Regions from separate parts of the Homo sapiens genome. Here region 1 is linked to region 2. The links are contacts of gene promoters, found by promoter capture Hi-C in blood cells and fetal thymus (Javierre and others, 2016). All regions are on one chromosome and are shown on one strand. Each heading gives the region's core, a stretch centred on a gene start or on the middle of the fragment in contact. The rest is flanking DNA. Distances are from core to core; before and after follow the strand shown. Region 1 holds the start of ARHGAP44 (Rho GTPase activating protein 44). Region 2 holds the start of ZNF18 (zinc finger protein 18).

What was found. The method cuts DNA at HindIII sites, captures the fragments that hold promoters and counts their contacts. A CHiCAGO score of 5 or more calls a contact.
Region 1: a contact is called between the fragment with the promoter of ARHGAP44 here and the fragment with the promoter of ZNF18 in region 2, in 2 of 17 cell types (M2 macrophages and erythroblasts). The highest score is 6.9, in M2 macrophages.

The regions. Positions count from the first base shown.
Region 1 is chr17:12,787,970-12,790,964 of GRCh38, reverse strand. ARHGAP44 (Rho GTPase activating protein 44) reads right to left here and starts at 1,467. Exons shown (of 21, transcript NM_014859.6): 1 at 1,074-1,467. The coding sequence starts at 1,126. It overlaps ARHGAP44-AS1 (ARHGAP44 and MYOCD antisense RNA 1), which reads left to right and starts at 681. Exons shown (of 2, transcript NR_104607.1): 1 at 681-822. RefSeq lists a silencer at 1,191-1,540. The HindIII fragment of the contact is 2,845 bases long and covers 1-1,853 here.
Region 2 is chr17:11,996,159-11,999,089 of GRCh38, reverse strand. ZNF18 (zinc finger protein 18) reads left to right here and starts at 1,615. Exons shown (of 7, transcript NM_001303281.2): 1 at 1,615-1,659. RefSeq lists enhancers at 1,047-1,126, 1,197-1,436, 551-1,534 and a silencer at 1,467-1,916. The HindIII fragment of the contact is 4,230 bases long and covers 420-2,931 here.

The DNA.
Region 1 (2,995 bases), core at 218-2,717, 790 kb before region 2:
GAGCCCTCGAGGTGTTGAGCTTGCATTTGAACTGCACCCAAGGCTGGATTCTTTGCTTTCTGATTGCTTTAGAACAGCACACCTGAATTCCTTTGCCACAGCAGCAACGGAAATCCCTCCCCAGGAGTAGGGGTTCCAGGAAAAATCCCTTCTACCTAACGCTCCTGTGTTCAAAGAATGTCTAGTCTTGGGAGCGACCCACCAGGATTTTTATGTAACCTTAATAGATGTTGGCACCCTGCAGAGCCGCTCCTGGAGTCCAGATGTAGCCCATTTTCACCGTGATGGCAGCAGGCGGGGTCTTGCAGCTTCCCGGGGCCTGACTCTTCTGACTGTGGGGCCTCTGTCCCCCTCCCCTACCTGGCTGCGATTCTCTGCTTATCTCATCTTCCCGAGGACTTGGGCCTCCTTTTTGCAGCCTCCCTCCCTCCACTGAAATCAGTCCTAACATCAAGCAGGCAGCAACGCCATTCCACCAGCACCTTCCTTCCTCTCCCACCCCTCACCCTTTCCCCCCACCAAACGCCTTAAGAAACCCGGCCAGGAAAGTGATCCAGAATCTCGTACAGTCATAGTCCCTGAAAACAAACACGGCGGGAGGGGCAGGCCGACCAGGCCCAGCACTTTCCCTGGACCCGGGAGCAGCCCTGAACTCGGCGCAGGGGAGGGGAGGGAAGAGATCTCCGGAGACCGACTGCGGTTCGGCTGCCTCCAGCACAATCAGAGCAAACACCTGTTTCCAGGAAGACAGGCGGCCAGAGGGAGAAGGGAGTCCCGGGGAAAGGCAGGGAGGACGAAGCGAAGGGGCAGCCGGGGACGCAGGTAAAGGATGCGTCACACTTTGCGCTTGGCAACCGGAGCCCGGAGCAGAAGGCGGCGAGTGAGAAGAGCTCCGGGGTCTGGGAAGTTAGGGAGGAGGGGTCGCGCCTGCGAGCGGCGCCTGGAGGGAGCTGGTGCAGGGGAAAGGACTGAGGCAAGGAGGACTGGAGGCTGGGCGGGCTCCATCACCTGCGCGCCCCTGCGGATGCAGCCTCGCGGGCGCGCACCGACAGCGGTGCCCGCGGGTGACCTACCTGCCCACCGTCTGGTTGGCCAGCTGGCGCATGCGATTGAACTGCTTCTTCATCGTGGCCCCGCTGCCGCGCTAGCCCGGGAGCTGGGGAAGGACGGAGCAGCCCGGAGCCCGCCGCAGGGTTACATGGCTCCCGCGCGGAGCCTCCCGGGCGACGGCGGCGGCACTGCGGAGCCTCCGGGCGCCGTCTGGCCCGCGCGCAGCTCCCTCCCGAGGGCGCCGCCGCCTACTCCTCCCGCCGCGCCGCCTCCTGCCGCATCCCCCTCACGCGCGCCGCGCAATGCCCGGGGCAGAGCAATGCCTGGGGCCGTCCTCGGCACCGGCCCGCTCCGCCCGGGCTGCCTGCTCCCAGTCCCAGTCCGGCGCGGGGACCCGGGAGTCTCCGCAGGCTGGCTGGCCGGCTGGCCCGGCGGTCCCCGTGCGCCTGTGCGGAGAACGCCGTGCATGCCGGGACTTGTAGTTTCGCGCCCCGTGCCCACCTTTCCTCTGTCCAAAGTTTGCAAGGACAGTGGAGTGCGGAGGTGGGAGAAGGCAGCGTCACCAGCAGCTTTGCACTTTAGCGTTCGAGTAAGGGAAACGTTTTCCTGTTTTAAAAATGGCAAAGTGGGACCAAGAATACAACAGCAAATAAAGAAAGTGAGCATCTGTCTCTCATTGTATTTTTAGTGAATGTGAGGTATCAGTGTTCTGAATTCACAGAAGGGAGATTTATGCTAGCAGATACGTGGCTGATAAAACGGTCTAAGGTCACCTGATTAATGATGAGGTTCAAGGTTAAGCTTGAAACACAGGGGCTGACAGCAGATTTTGAACAGGCATAGCTTGCATCCCAGAAGTCTGATTCTTAATTTTTACCAAACCAAACCCATTAGGTAACCAGAAGCCAATATAGATAAGTGACGTTGTGCTTACTGGCCCAACCTGTCTGAGACAGCTTTTTTGTATGGCTTAGATGCCAATCTCGTATCTAGTCCCATTTCCCTTCCACCACCAGGAGACCAAGGGGCATCAGCTGCAGCACCCCCCAAGTGTCCTGCACCACAGCATCCCATTGGCGTCAGTTGACTCCTTGGAAGGGGTTGTGGCTTCTTTGGTCTCTATCCTTAGAAAAAGATAGGTGAGCCGGGCGCGGTGGCTCACGCTTGTAATCCCAACAGTTTGGGAGGCCAAGGAGGGTGGATCACGAGGTCAGGAGTTCGACACCAGCCTGGCCAACACAGTGAAACCCTGTCTCTGCTAAAAATACAAAAATTAGCTGGGCGTGGTGGCGGGCACCTGTAATCCCAGCTACTTGGGAGGCTGAGGCAGGAGAATAGCTTGAACCTGGGAGGTGGAGGTTGCAGTGAGTGGAGATCGCGCCATTGCACGCCAGCCTGGGTGACAGAGCTAGACTCCATCTCAAAAAACAAAAAAAAAAGAAAAGAAAAAAAAGAAAAAGATTGGTGATTGCAGTTAGGTTTTATCATTATATATCAAGGTTTTATCATTATATATCAAGTAAAAGCAGTATTGTTGGGTGTGAGGCACTTTGGATTAAACAGATAGGAGTTCCTGCATCAGAATTCCACATACCTGTTATATAACCTTAGGAAAACAGCTTAACCTCTCCAAACCTCTGTTTCCTCATCCCTAAATAGAAAAATATGCTGCCTGATCTTCAGTAAGAGAACTATTTGTTAAATTACAATAATCAAATTACATATAAATTTTCATATAGTACATTGCCGTATTCATTTACTACAAAATGATTATATTTAGCATAATAGAGAAAAATCCTGTTCATACAACAGAATTACTAATCTTATAAAGGAAGGATCTTCTTTGAAATAGGATATTTTGCATATGTTGATTATAGTTGCAAGATGTCCTAAATATGGCTCTAAGTATCTTGCTGGCTAGCTGAACAAAAAGTGGTTTGAGGCA
Region 2 (2,931 bases), core at 366-2,865:
TGGAAGCAATACCCAATGAAGGTGTCCCTCTAAATGTGCCTGGTAAATTGTTAGCCATGCTGTCCTCAGGAACTCAAAGCAGCGCCATCAATCACATGAATGTTAGAAACGTCCAGCTAGGTGCCATGGCTCATGCCTGTAATCCCAGCACTTTGGGAGGCCAAGGTGGGTGGATCACTTGAGGTCACGAGTTCGAGACCAGCCTGGCCAACATGGTGAAACCCCGTCTCCACCAAAAATACAAAAAAAAAAAAAAAAAAAAAAAAAGACTAGAAACTTCCACCTATGTCAGGCTGAAACAGTAGTTTCACACATAGGATCTTGTTCAGACCCTGGGACTTAAGAGAACATGTCGAATCCCTTTTCCGCTGGTCACTTTTCAGGTACATGAAGATGTAATCCCATCCCCGCATCAAGCTTTATTTCTCCAGAGGAGGATCTTTAATTCTTGTAAACATGGGACAGGTACAGGACATGTTATGATAATGACAGGTACAGGACATGTTATGATAATGACAGGTACAGGACATGTTATGATAATGACAGGTACAGGACATGTTATGATAATGACAGGTACAGGACATGTTATGATAATGACAGGTACAGGACATGTTATGATAATGACAGCTCTTCTTTAAATTTTTATTTTTTATTTATTTTATTTCCATAGGTTATTGGGGAACATGGCAGCTTTTTTTGAATACCCTCCTCTTTGCCAGTTGCCCAAGGTGGAACACCCAAACTTTGACATGATACTTCCATTAATGCAACTTAGTATCACAAGTTGATGTCGTGGCCCAGCACAGGATGGCCTGGAAACCGGCAACACTGGACGCTGGGGAAAGGGTAAGAAGGTCTTGACCATTACAAATGGTGTGGAACTGAGCCGAGGGAGGGATAGTGAGAAGGGAGAGAGGGTGAGGTGTCTGAGAGACAATGAGGTCAAATCAGAGGATTCAGCCATTGTTGGCGTGTGGGAAAGGGAAGGAGAAGGGAAGAGTCAGGGATGACATTTGTTGAGAGAGAGAGAGAGAAGAGAGAGAGACGCAGGTGGAAAGAGGATGGCACCACATTGGACTAGCCCCAACGGAATGGGGAGAAGTGGGAGAGGACCCAGGGGATGCAGAGCTGATGAGAGTGGGAGAACCAAGACAGAGGAAGAAGGTTGGGGCAAATCAAGTGTCTCAGGGAGGCCCAGTGAGGCAAGAACGGAAAGGAGAAAGGCGGCGGTTAAGAATCAGGGATAATGGCAGAGCGTTGCAGCTCTGCGGGTGGGACTGGGCGGAAGGGTTTGGGAGAGACAAAGAAATGATCTTTGAAGGCCTCGCAGTGCTTGGCCGAGTGCCTGGCACAGAATAGGTGCGCAATAAATGACGGGTGAGAAGTGAAGGAACTCAGGAACAGTGATTAGTGAGTGAGTGACGGAAGGAACGGAGGATGGCGTTGGCTCGGGAACCTCGCTGCCATGTCGGTGGAGGCTCCTGGGCTGCAACGCCAGAGAGAGGCGGGGCGTCCCCGACGGCCAATAGGAGCTTCGGTATCAGCTCCGCCCCCGCCCCCTAGCTCCGCCCGGTGCCGCACGTCGTTCGCCTGCCGCCTGAGGCGCGCGCAGCCACCCAGCTCCCGGAAGTGCGCCCGGAGCCGGCGCCGCGGGCCGAGGTGAGCGCGCTTGCGGGGCGGTCCCGGCCTCCGGCCGCTCGGGGTCAGGCCTTGCGCTATCTGCGTCCGCACCTGACTCAGCTGGGCACCCCGGAGCTACGGAGGGGCCAGCGGGCTCCCTTGCCCATGCGTCTGGGAGCGCGCGGGGGACGTGGCGAGTGCGGGGCCGGGGCAGCCATGGCTGGGAGTGGACCGTGGGTGCGGGGGGATGTGTGAACCCCGTCCCGGCTCTGCATTCCTGCGCCTCTGCGCCCCGCGGGACCGGCCGGGTCTCTGCACTGGGACCGAAAACGGGCTCCTCCCCGCTGTCTTCCCCTAAGGGCTGAAAATGAGTCTCTGGAAGAGGAAACCCGATGGGATGATGCCTGGAGTCTCTCCCTCTCTCATCAGAGTGCAGTCGGCATTTGGGGGGCGCATGGTGGAGAATACATATCCAATGAGCAGCGCTGCCCTGGCCTCGAGCACTAAATGCCAGTTCCCCTAGCTGCTTGTGACAACCAGAAAACGCCCCAACAAATCACCAGACGTTGGCAGTTCTCCCCAAAGCAAAGGCTTTAGAGCTTCCTGGGTTAATCTGGCTGCCACTTGTGAGCCTCGGAGGTTCCTGATCTGTACACCAGGGTAATTGTGGGAATTGGAAATACATGAACCGAGCTTAATAATGAGCCGATACGTAGTAGGTGCTTAACAAATGGTTACTTATATATGTAACCATGTATGTAACCACTTGTGTATATTACACCTAGAATGCACTTTTAAAAATTCATTCTATTTGTTAAAGGTTTAATAACAGGTATAACAGACAACCTTATTTTTTTTTCATAACTAATGGGGGCAGTTCCTCATGAGGTTATCGGAATATAAACTCTATTAAATTTTTAATACTATATAAAGTAATTTAATTTTGAATAATCGAGACATTTTTCTTACACACTACCTGGGAGTATAATATTACTAACAAAAGATTTAAGTATTTTATAAAATCTGTAGTTTTTCCAAAATGTCATTTCTCTTAAATATTATCTAAACTGCTATCTTAATTTAGGAAACAGATAAATTGCAGTAAGTTTACAGGTCGGTATCTTGCTATCTAAAATCTTGCCGCTTGTTATTTGAAACTCTTGAGCCAAATAGGTTGGATTTACAAAGCAAGGTATTTTTAAAAATATATTTATTCGTTTTTTAAGATGTTATTTGAAACTGTAGGTTTACCTCTGAGCTAAAGCTGCTTTTCAGGTGGTTTGATAATGCTGTCATTGTCACTCAGTATGA